2 separate regions of the Homo sapiens genome follow, and region 1 is linked to region 2. The links are contacts of gene promoters, found by promoter capture Hi-C in human tissues and cell types (Jung and others, 2019). All regions are on one chromosome and are shown on one strand. Each heading gives the region's core, a stretch centred on a gene start or on the middle of the fragment in contact. The rest is flanking DNA. Distances are from core to core; before and after follow the strand shown.

Evidence for each region. The method cuts DNA at HindIII sites, captures the fragments that hold promoters and counts their contacts. A contact is called where the count stands out against the background at its distance.
Region 1: a fragment that was not itself captured here is called in contact with the fragment with the promoter of WNT3A in region 2 in 2 of the 25 tissues and cell types used here (H1 embryonic stem cells and pancreas).

Annotation. Positions count from the first base shown.
Region 1 is chr1:228,048,812-228,054,615 of GRCh38, forward strand. WNT3A (Wnt family member 3A) reads left to right here. Exons shown (of 4, transcript NM_033131.4): 3 at 1,845-2,110. Among named protein-coding and RNA genes, the nearest start is that of LINC02809, 25 kb to the right of the region's middle. RefSeq lists a silencer at 153-359. The HindIII fragment of the contact is 5,382 bases long and covers 589-5,804 here.
Region 2 is chr1:228,002,749-228,009,175 of GRCh38, forward strand. It overlaps WNT3A (Wnt family member 3A), which reads left to right and starts at 4,250. Exons shown (of 4, transcript NM_033131.4): 1 at 4,250-4,451. The coding sequence starts at 4,381. RefSeq lists an enhancer at 1,764-1,813. The HindIII fragment of the contact is 17,022 bases long and covers 2,111-6,427 here.

The DNA.
Region 1 (5,804 bases), core at 2,030-4,529, 45 kb after region 2:
ACACAGCTCATTCTTTCAACCTGTCTGGGGAAGCCTGGCTGGGGTCCTGGCCTCTGCAAAGCCCACACCACCGCTCATTCCCATCCCTCTGATCCTAGCCTCCAGAGCTTTCTCCTAAATTCCAGCCCTCCCCTACCACCCTTCTGCACAAGCAATGCCACTTCCCCAACTTGGCCTCTATTTCCCCATTTGGGGAAGAAGGAAGCTGTGTACAAGGACCCAGGCAGCTCCAATGTCAGCAGCGGCAGACACCCTGCAGCCTTCCAAGCTGGAGGCAGGGGCATTTGGGGCACTGGGGCTGGCCCTGGGGAGGCGGGCACTGGAAGTCACTGGTGTTGAGAAGATTCCAGAAGAGGCAGCTGTACCGCTGAGCCATGCAAGTGTCGGTGCTTGGGGTGGAGGAAGGCAATGGCAAGTGGCACAGCAGAGGTGGGCGGTGTGTGGGGTGGAGCCACACTCTGGGGTCTGCACCCCAGGCTATCTGGGCAGCAGAAGGAATTAGCTCTTGTCTGGTTTTACCTGCCTTCGTTCAGTTGTATGATTATTTTGAGATCCTTTGTGCTATTTTTCTTGTTATTCCTAAATTAAATGCTGTTACAGACTTGCCACTGCTTTTTAACCATCCCTGTTAATGGACATTGGGGTACTTCCAGTTTGTGGCTTGTGTGAACATTTGCTTACAAGTCTTTGCACAGACACGGGTTTCCTCTGGGGCAAACCTAACGGCTGGTGGACGTTTACCCTTGAAGACACTGCCAAAGTGCCTCCCAAGGGGACTGCACCTTTCCCCTCCATCCAGCTGTGAACAAGGGTCAGGGTCTGATTTCTCCACATCCTTGCCAACACTTGCTACTCTTTGACTCTTTGATTGCAGCCATCCCCGTAGGTGTGAGGCGGCCCCTTATTGGGTTTTTTGATTTGCACATCCCCAGGATGGGTGATGTCGACCATCTTTCCAGGTGCATGCTGGCCTTCCTTGTGCCTTTTTTTTAAAGACAGGGTCTTGCTCTATCACCCATGCTGGAGTGTGACTATAGCTCACTGCAGCCTCAAACTCCTGGGCTCTAGCAATCCTCCCACCTCCGCTTCCTGAATAGCTGGGACTACATGCACACACCACTGCACCTTGCTAATTTTAACATTTTTTTGTAGAGATGGGGTCTTGCTACATTGCCAAGGCTGGTCTCAAACTCCTGGGCTCAAGCAATCCTCCCACCTCTGCCTCCCAAAGGGCTGGGATTACAGATGTAAGCCACCTTGCCAGCTGTATGTTTTTTAAGACAGGGCTGGAGTGCAGTGGTGCTATCCTGGCTCACTGCAGCCTCCACTTCCTGGGCTCAAGTGATCCTCCCGCCTCAGCCTCCCAAGTAGTTGGGGCCACATCCAGTTAATATTTTTAGTTTTTGTAGAGATGGGGTCTTGCTATGTTGAAAAGGCTGTCCTGGTCTCAAGCAGTCCTCCTACTGTGCCTCTCAAAGTGCTGGGATTACAGGCATGAGCCACTGTACTTAGCCAAAGTTGCTTGTTAAAAAGAGCCTGGTACCAACCTCCCCTCTCTCACTTCTGTCACCATGTAATTTCTTGCACACACTGGTTCCCCTTTACGCCCCCTTTCCCTTCTGCCACAAGTGGAAACAGCCTGAGGCCCTTGCCAGAGGCAGTTGCTGGAGCCATGCTTCTGTGTAGCCTGTAGATCCGTGAACCAAGTAAGCCTCTTTGCCTTATACACCACCCAACCTCACGAGTTCCTTTATAACAATGCAAATGGGCTAAGACCCCTGACCTGCCCAAGGCGGTCCTTTGAGCTGAGCCCTGTTAACCCTGCATCTCTCCTCTCTCTACAGCTACCAGGGAGTCGGCCTTTGTCCACGCCATTGCCTCAGCCGGTGTGGCCTTTGCAGTGACACGCTCATGTGCAGAAGGCACGGCCGCCATCTGTGGCTGCAGCAGCCGCCACCAGGGCTCACCAGGCAAGGGCTGGAAGTGGGGTGGCTGTAGCGAGGACATCGAGTTTGGTGGGATGGTGTCTCGGGAGTTCGCCGACGCCCGGGAGAACCGGCCAGATGCCCGCTCAGCCATGAACCGCCACAACAACGAGGCTGGGCGCCAGGTAGGTTCGCCGCCCGCAAGGGTGCTTGGGAAAAAGGAGCCTCCTCAGCAGGGTGTGTGCCCTGGTTCCTTGGGGCATATGGCCCGGTGAGGCAGGATGGTGGCCAGGCTGAGGGTCTTCTCGACCCCTGCCTGGGGTGTGCGAAGCTTAGCACCATCCAGCTACACCACAGCATCCAGTGCGCTCCTGGGGATGGCGAGCCCACCTGTGGACTGGGGTAGCCAAGAAGGAGTGATGAGGCAAAGGCCTGGTCAACAGGAGCCCCGGCAGAGCCCAGGGAGGGAGACAGCCAGGCAGCCACAGAGACGGGGAGGAATTCTGCAATGAGGAAATGCAGGCACACAAGGTGACCCGATGTCAAGGACAGCTGGCAGTAATTTAGGGGGAGGGAGGCTGGGAGAGCCTCCCAGGCAGCCTGGAGGTGAAAGACAACAAGCGACTTGGTGGGCAGAGCACAGAGTGTAATGGAACAAAGAGCATCTTGATCTGCAGAGGCCAACCCAAACCAAGCCGTGTAAAGCTTCGTGAGCCTGTGTCTTATTCTGTCTGTGCTGCTACAACAAAATACCTTAGACTGGATAATTTATAAACAATGGGAGTTTAGTACTCACAGTTCTGGAGACTGGGAAGTCCAAGGTCATGGTACTAGCAGATACCTTGTCCGGTGAGGGCCTGCTCCTCATGGATGATGCCTTCTGTGTCCTCACCCAGGGTGTGGATCGCTCTGGGGTTACTTTTATAAGGGCATTGTTTTAGGCCATTCTTGCATTGCTACCCGAGACTGGGTAATTTATGAAGAAAAGAGGTTTAATTGGCTCATGGATCTGCAGGCTGCACAAGCTTGGTAACAGCATCTGCTCAGCTTCTTGGGAGGCCTCAGGGAGATTTTACACATGGCAGAAGTGGAGTGGTAGCAGGCACGTCACATGGGCCAGAGCAGGAGCAAGGAAGACAGAGTGGGGGAGAGGTCGCCACGCACAGATCTTGTGTGAACTCACTCATTATCATGAGGACAGCACAAGCCATTCATGAGGGATCTGCCCCCATAACCCAAACACCTCCTACCAGGTCCCACGCCCAACACTGGGGATTACACTTCAACATGAAATTTGGAGGGAACACAGATCCAAACCGTATCAGGCACGAATCCCATTCACGATGCTCCACCCTCATGACTTGACTTGATCACCTTCTAAAGGCCCTACCTCTTAATGCTGTCACCTTGAGGGTAAAGATTTCTTTCTGGGGGGGTGGGGACACAGGGTCTTGCTGGATACAGTGGCACCATCTCAGCTCACTGCAGCCTCCACGTCCCGGGTTCAAGCGATTCTCCTGCCTCAGCCTTCTGAGTAGCTGGGACTATAGGCGCATGCCACCACACCTGGCTAATTTTTGTATTTTTAGTGGAGATAGGGTTTCACCATGTTGGCCAGGCTGGTCTTGAGCTTTTGGCCTCAAGTGATCCACCCACCTCGGCCTCCCAAAGTGCTGTGATTACAGGTGTGAGCCACCATGCCCAGCCGAGGGTAAAGATTTTAACCCATGAATTTTTGAGGAACACAAACATTCAGACCACAGCAGCTTGCTAGAAAGGATGTGGTCAGAAGATCAGTGGATGGCCAAGGGAGGAAAGATGGCTGATGGGCAGTGACGGGCGTAAGGACCAAGTGGCGTCCACGGGATTTAACAACATGAAGATGGCAGCTGACCTTGGCTGTAGAATCAGGGGACCACAGAGGGGTGACGAGTGAACAGGGGATATTCACCTTTTAACAGTGAGGAACTAGATAACTCAGACTAATCTTCCTGCAGAAGACAACTTCAGATGCAGGATGAACTATAAAAAGCACCCTGTTAAAAGTGTGGAGTCCCCATAATTACCCAATTCATGATAGATGAGGCAGTGCAGTGCCATGGGAGAAATGGGCTTTTCAATAAATGGTGCTCAGTCAACCGGGTGGTGCTATGGTCTGAATGTGTCTCCCAAAATTCGTATGTTGTAAGCTTGATCTCCAGTGCAACAGTCTGGAGAGGTGGGACCTAATAAGAGGTGTTTAGGTGATGAGGGCCTTGCCCTCATAAAGGGACCAATGCTGCTGTAAAAGGGCTTGCAGAAGAGGGTCTCTCTCTCTCTCTCTTTCTATTACTTTCCTGCCATATGAGGACATGATGTTCCTCCCTTCTGGAGGACATGGCATTCATTCAGGGTGCCCTCTTGGAAGCAGATAAACCAAGCCCTAACCTGTCAGCACCTTGATCTTAGATTTCCCAGCCTCCCAAACCATGAAAGAATACATTTATGAATTACTCAGTCTCAGGTGTTACGTTGTAGCAATACAGCATTGACTAAGACAGATAGCAACATGGAAAAAAAATAACCCTGGCTTGCTACCTCACACCATCTGTAAAAATCAATTACAAATCCCAGTGGGACAGGTAAAACAATAAAACTTTTACAAGAAAATATAGAATATCTTTGTGACCTTAGAGTAGGCAAAGGTGTCTTAAACAGTCCAAAAAAGCACTCACATTGAAAGAGAAGTGGAATAACATAGACTATATTCAAATTAAGAACTTTCATCCATAAAAAGACACCACTATGGGACTGAAAAGGCAACCCATAGAGGACACATTCACATACATACATCCACACTCACATATGCAGCAAATGTAGAGAAGCTACAGTAGGAAAAGAACTCTGCAGACTAAGAAAAAAAAGATAGACAAACCAATGGGAAAATTGGCCAAAAAATTAAAAGCCATGTTATGAAAGAAAATATAGAAATTCCACTACCTATACAAAAGGTGCTCAATGTTATGAGTCATCAAGAAAATGCTGTGAGAACCTATGTCCTGGAAAGAGAGAGGAGGATGGGGGTGTCTGAGACACTGGTGTTCTGGGGCAGGTAATTTGTAAAATTTTGTATATTTTGCACTTATGACACATATATATTTTTGTATGTCTATTATACTTCCATAAAATGATTTTTAAGTGTCAAATAACTGACCATCTAGTGAGGAATTAGCAGCCCCTGATCCAAGAGAAGATCCCAAGTCTGGTACCTGGGGTAGCTTTTGTCTAGGGGCCATTTGCTGACCTGGAAGAGACTACAGAGGTTGCACTGCATTTCCAGCAGACTCACAGAGCTAAGGGGCCCACCAAGGGTGCCATCTCTGGTAAATCCTTCCTCAGTGTAGGCTGTGACCCTGAAGAGCAAAGCCAAGCCAGAAGTAGTCTTGTCCTGTTCACATGGGCAGACTAGAAATCTCTCAAAACCTGAACTTGGATTAAGGTAATCCCAAATTGCTGGTACTCCCATACACCTGGAAAAAGCAGACAAAATCCTCTTTGGAGAAGGATGATATCCCTCCTCTAAGCCTATAAATGTTTCTATAATAATTTTTTAGAAAACACAATGTTGGCTGGGCGTGGTGGCTCACACCTATAATCCCAGCACTTTGGGAGGCCGAGGTGGGCGGATCGTGAGGTCAGGAGATTGAAACCATCCTGGCTAACATGGTGAAACCCGGTCTCTACTAAAAAATAACAAAAAAAATTAGCCAGGCGTGGTGGCAGGTGCCTGTAGTCCCAGCTACTTGGGAGGCCGAGGCAGGAGAATGGCGTGAACCCAGGAGGCGGAGCTTGCAGTGAGCCAAGATCGCACCACTGCACTCCAGCCTGGGCGACAGAGTG
Region 2 (6,427 bases), core at 3,000-5,499:
TAACAGCCTCCTGTTGACCAGAAGCCTTGCTGATCCCACACACAGTCAGTCAGAACATACGCTGCATGCCACATGTGTTATCCCCTGTGTTCCTACAATAAACTCAGCTGGAGAAAGGAAATTCCTGCTCAGAAAACCTAGAAAAGAAGCCAGACTCACAGTTCATGAGGCGGCAGTGGGTCCTCATAAAGGTCTTCATCCTAGTGGCCTTCATATTGAGTGGCTGAGGAGGAAGACAGAAGCGGGGCTTGGTCTTGCTGTGTCAGGGTGGCAGAGGCAGGAGAAATCCATGTATAAGTGACCCACACAGTGCAAACCTGTGTTGTTTGAGGGTCACCTGTCCTGCATGAACATCTCCTTGTATGGCCTGAGAGCCAGGACCTTGAACAAGAAGTGAGAGTGTTGCTTCTGGAGGGCCAGTAACTGCAGTTATGTGAGGATGAAATAAAAATATGATTCATTTATTTTTAACTGATATGATTTTTTTTCAAATAGCTACTGATCATTAAGTGGTTGGACCTAATTACTTAATAAACAAAGCTCTTAGGTATTTATTTTAGCCTGAGGAGCTGGGCAAAGAATGACTATAAGTTGTTTTCTTGATTAATTTAATTTAATTTTATTTTATTTTATTTAGAGTCAGGGTCTCACTCTGTCACCCAGGTTAGAGTGCAGTGATGCAATCATAGCTCACTGCAGCCTTGAACTCCTCAGCCCAGATGATCCTCCCATCTTGGCCTCCCAAAGTGCCGGGATTACAGGTGTGCACCATCACACCTGGCCAATTGAAAGTTTTGATCTCAAGAACCCACTGCTTATGGAGAAGGCATCCAAAGAGTGACCCCCACAAGGAAGGTCAGGGAAGCTTCCAGAAGGGACCAAGTTCCAATGGAACTGACTGTGGAGGGGCACTCCGTCTTCTGACCCTGGACCCCTACCCTGTCCTGCTGCTGTTCCTTCCAGGGTCCCTCAGCCAGAAAGCCCCCAGAGCCTTGAACTCTGTCTGCCCAAACCCCTTCTCTGTTTTCCCCCAACTTATTTTTGCTCAAATGAGAAAAAAAGGAAGCAAAAGATGACCAGTTAGTGTCTGAAATCCTGGCTTGCCCCACCCATAACAGGGACTCACACCCGCTGTAGACAGGGAACCCACTACCTCACACAGCAAACTGTCCATCAGAGATGCCCCTCCCACCTGGCTTACCCCACCCAAGCAGGTATCTTACAGAGCTTCCGGGGTGGGCAGCGCCTCCTCTCGCCTGGGGGCCTATTCTGGAAGGAGGGAGCACGCTCCCTGGGCCCTCCAGCAGGCCAGAAATGATGTTCCCTCCAGCACCATCCATACATGGGGAGTTTTGTTTTATCAAACACATGGCTGGCTGCTCAGGGCTTAGCTCCAGAGCTGCCCGGTTGTCAGGCCTTCTCACACGTGCCCTCTCTGAGGACGATTAGCCCTTTCCTGACGCTGGCTTGCAAAGGTCTCACCCACCTCCCCGTTCCAAGTGTTGGAATGTGGGTCTGTGTCCTGGCCAACAAGGAGGTCTGTGGAGACAGGACCGGGTCTCAGTCACCGTTCAGCAGCCACCCGGCATGCCCCCAGGAGCCTGCCCTATGCCTTGACCTCAACCTACGCCATCCCAGTCCCCAGCGCAATGCACAGGTGGGGACATAGACCTTGACAGACTGGTCAGGGACAGCTCCCTTTAGGCAACAGCAGAGGGCGCTTCCAGGGAGGCCCCTCACCTTCCTCTGCACCCCAAGCAAGGGACAAGAGGTGCTGTAGGCAACATCACCCGAGCCTGGAAGACACTCAGGAGAAGCCCCTCAGGCCCCTGACACCCAGCTGGGGTCCCACCCTTGCTCTCCCACTCTGCTCTCCACCCCACCCCAGCCCAGCCCCACTGACTTGGCTGCTCAGGAGCCGAGGCTCTCGGAGGCTCACAGAGGGAAGGAGGAGCCCCACGTGGTACAGGCAGGTACCGAGGAGCTAGTTCCAGAAGCCTCCGCTCGTTCCTCCATGCAGCCTACCCTGGCTCCCTGGTATCCAGAGTCTTCAGAAACAGGAGCCCTCGCTTGAGAGCCTGGCCTGGGCAGGCTGAGCTCCTGCCTGGGGCCTCGGAGTCTGCTCCTCCCTTCATCTTCTGCAGCCTGGGAAGCGGCCGGATCTCAGTGTGTGTACTACCCAGGTGGCACGGGCAGAGGATGGGGCCTGATGGGGGAGAAGAAAGCAGCCAGGAGGAGGGGCTTGGGAAACCAAGGGGCAAGAGGGCAGGACTGAGCAGGCTGCGCTCACCTGCCCCCTTCAGTGAGGTCACGAGGCCCATCCTGTCGGTGGGCAGAGCTGGCATCCTCTAGGGGGCTCTAATCCCCGAGCCTCATTTCTGGGGAGGTGGGGGTAACAAGAGTCTGCGTGCCTCAGGCTGGGCTCAGGCGCCCACCCCACCTGCAGCCCAGGTTTTCCCCAGTACCACAATTGGGTGGGATTTTTGCTGCAAGGCCAAGTCCAGAGGAGCACAAACACGCTCCTCCCCTCCCCCTCCCTGACCCCACCGCCGCTTCATTCCAGAGCTCTTCCCTCTTTCCCTCTGAGGGTGGGGGCCCCGCAGTGCCTGGGAGAAGCGGGTGGGCGGCCGGGCATGCGTAGCGGAAACTGGATTCCCAAGGTAGTGAGGAGCAAAGGGAACTTTTTTTCAAAGAGAAAGGCTGTCACTCTGAATTCAGGACTCCTGACATAGTCACCAGGTGACCCCTAGGGCCGGTGTCCACAGGACCACAGGCTCCCTCTGCAAACGCAGAACCAAGTTGTGAGTGGGGCACACTGTGGGAAGCAGCTGCCTCCATCAGCCAGCCAGTGACACACCTGGGGACATCTCAGCCACCCCCTCCCTGAGAAGCTGCACAGAAGCGGCCACATGCCCATCCCTGCCTCTCCATGCACCTCCCTCCCGCAACTCTGCAGCCGCACAGGAGGCCTAGCCCACAGGCTGGGCAGTGCAGTATCCCCAGAGAACACACCACGGATGAGTCTGGAGTTGCTTGGAGCTCTCAGAAGCTCCCGGAGCCTCCTTCCTCAATTCCAACGCGGTAACCAAGATTCCTGCTGAGCTTAGGTCACAGTGTGACTGCAGGAGGACCAGCCGCGATGGGAGAGTGCCTCTTAACCATCCCAGTTATCAGGTCCCCCGGGGGAGGCTGGGGACACTTCCCCTCTGCAAATTACAATCTCCCCAGGCGGCTCCCGGGGCAACACATGGATATGCAAATGACTGGGAGCTGGAGAGTTGACTGGTCACTGGGTGACCTTGGGCAAGTCACTTTCCCTCTCAGGTCTTCCCCTCTCCATCAGCAAACTCCTAAAGCTTAACTAAACAGTCAGAAATCCCTCTGTCGGAACAGGCTGCATAGCTCTGGGCAGACCTGGAGGTTGGTGGTCCCAGAACCTGGGGGCAGCACTGCGCTTCCCCACCGTCCCATCGCGTCAGGGGCTTCCACTGTTCTCTTCCCTGGTGGAGTGATGGGGAGAAAAATGGAGGGGTCAATCCCTGCGCCACAGAGAGAGTCCCACTCGTCCCCAGCTGTGACCCACAGACGCGTGGCTGCACCTTGGAGGTCCACCTGGCCGCTGTCCCCATTGCAGGCTGCACCCATCCCGGACCCTTTCTATCCGCCGAAGGCGCAGGCAGCTCTGGTCTCAGCGGAAGGAGTCCGGCCGCAGGCAGACGGGGCCAAAGGACGTGCACCCGACAACCGTCCGCTCCCTCCCCAAACCCCCGCCCCGAGAAGGTTGATGGATGAAGGGGAGCCCTAGCCCAGCCACCTCGGGGGCAAGAGACGGAGCTCGCCACAGACCAGGAGCGAGAGGGGGACTGCGGGTCCCACCGTGAGCGCAGGGCGCGCGGGGCTGGAAACCCAGGACGCGGCCCGGGAGCTCCAGGAGGGCGCCTGCGGATCGCGCGGCCCCGGGCCGGCCGCCTGCCCATCTGGCGCACCCCAGCGCGCCGCGCACACCTGGGGGCCCGCACACCAGCACGTCCTCAGACACACCGACACCCACGGCAGCAGGCGGGGGCCAACGCCGCCGCCGCGGTTCGGGCTCCCGTGGCCCCGCCTGCCCCTGCCTGCCCCGCCCGGGCCCCGGCCCCGGCGGGCGCCCCCCGCGGCGCTGCCCCGCCCCCGCCGCCCCGCGCCGCCCCGGGCCTCGGCCCGCAGCCCGGCCGCCGGCCCACCTGGCGCAGCGCCGCCCTCGGAGCCCGCGCACACCCGCGCACCCGCGGCCGCAGGAGGGCCCAGCGACGCCGCCGCGCCAGCTCCCAGGGCCCGGCCCCCCCCGGCGCTCACGCTCTCGGGGCGGACTCCCGGCCCTCCGCGCCCTCTCGCGCGGCGATGGCCCCACTCGGATACTTCTTACTCCTCTGCAGCCTGAAGCAGGCTCTGGGCAGCTACCCGATCTGGTGGTGAGTGAGCCTCCTCGCGTTCGCCCCTGCCCCTGTGCGCCGCGCCCGCAGCAGACGGTCCCCTCGGGCAGGGACCCCGCGGTGGCCCGAGCCCGCGCCCTTCTGCTCCAGCCCCGCGTGCGGGCCGCGGGCGGTTGGTTTTCCTTGACGGCCACTTTGGACCTGTTCAGGCCGCTGGGACGCGTGGGTGGCGGAGTTTCCGGAGACATTGATTCCCGAGCGGGGGAGTAGGGGAGGTTGCGGAGGTCCTAGCTGCCCCTGGCGTCGGACAGGGCGAGCAGTGGGCTGGGGAGAGGCTGAAAGAAGGTCGGCACGCACGGTCACCGAGGGGACAGGCAGCTCGAGGCCAGGGGACAGGCGAGGGAAGAGGGCCAGCGAGAGAGAATTCGCCGGAGACTTTCCTCAAAAACCGTATCTTACACACAAACACACACACACGTTTTAAAACAAAGTCGATGAGACAAGACTGAACAGCTCGGAGCAGCGTGGTTACGTAAAGAAAGCTGGGACCCGGCGGGGAGTGGCGCAGAGCCGGCGGCGGGGCGCACTGGGGGCCGGCCCTGGGCCCCGCGCGCCTCCCCGCCGCAGTCCGGGCACGGGGGTTTCCAGGGGCCCTCTCTGCGAGCCCTCCGCATGGGTCCACCTGGCAATGAGGGGCTGCTGTAGAGAGAGTTAAGGGTGAGTTAAGCACGGGGTGTGAGGGGCTCCAGGACCCTCAATCAGAAAGCGCTGTGCTGCGCCCTCCACACCAGAAAAGGCGCGTTCCGTGAGACCCTCCCCAGCCTGGCGATGGAAGTGCAGATAAACCAAAGGAAGGGTCCCGAAAGGTCTCTCTCAGGCCTCCCACCTCCACTGCACATATCCTGTGGGAGGGGGAACGGTGGCCACACTTTCGCCAGGGCTTGTGATCCCTCAGAGCCCTCACCAAGCAAGGATCACCCCAGTTCCGAATTAAGGGCGCTCTGAGATGCCCAAGATTGAGGAACACAAGTGGGAGGAATGTGGGCGCGCAGGGCCGGGCGCAGCGCTGGTAGGACCCACAGTTGGAGAGAAGCCTCCCCACAAGCATGCACACTCCCCCCCATCCTTCTCCGACGGCAGCCTGGAATTATAATAATTACGCCGAGGGGAAGGGGGGAGACCCAGCGAGCCGAGGTACATCTAATCCGATAATAATTTTTCTCTTCGAGATGGTTCAGGAGCGGGGGCTCCCGCGGTAGGGGCGCCGGGCCAGGAGCAGCGGGGAGGGGAAGGGGCAGCCCTAGGCAGCTGAAGGGCCTGGAAGAGGCCACGAGGCCGCGGGGACGCGCTTCGGGGACCCCCGCGCGCCCCTATTTCCGCGTGCCCCATTTCCCGTGCGGCACCTGCTGCGCCCAGTGGCCCACCTGAGGGTCAGGCTCGGGGCTCGCCTTGGGGTGCGGGGATACTGACGCGCGTCCAGACGGCCGCAGGGAGCCAGGGGCAGCGCGTCCGTCCGAGAGAGCCCCGAGGGCTGCCGGCTTACGCACCAGGCTTCTAATTAGAACCCGCCGCCGCGTTCCTGAGCGCAAAAGGAAGCTCCTTCGCCCCGCGCCCTTCCCATAAATGTCGCCAGCCTCCTGGCAACCCCGCGCCCTAGGATCTTTGTCTTGTCGGCCCTGAGGGTTCCTAGCCTCGGTCCCCATCCACCTCATATGCATGTATACCTCCTTTTCACCTGGGCCCCCTGTGTTCTACCCTGAATGGACCCTGAGACACCCTCGGGGACAGTCAGGCATTCTGCAGGGGAGCCAGGAGGAGCAGAGAAGTGAAGTCCCTGTACCCTCCGCACCCTCCTATCAAGAGTCCAGGACAGCCCTTTGGCCACACAGGGAAGCGGGGCATAGAACCCCACCTGACACTGACCGGGGTGGGTGGTGAGGACCCCTCCCCCATCCCCACCACCACTTTGTTCTCAGTAGGGTTCTCACACTTGGGGATTCTCTGCTTCCTGAGAA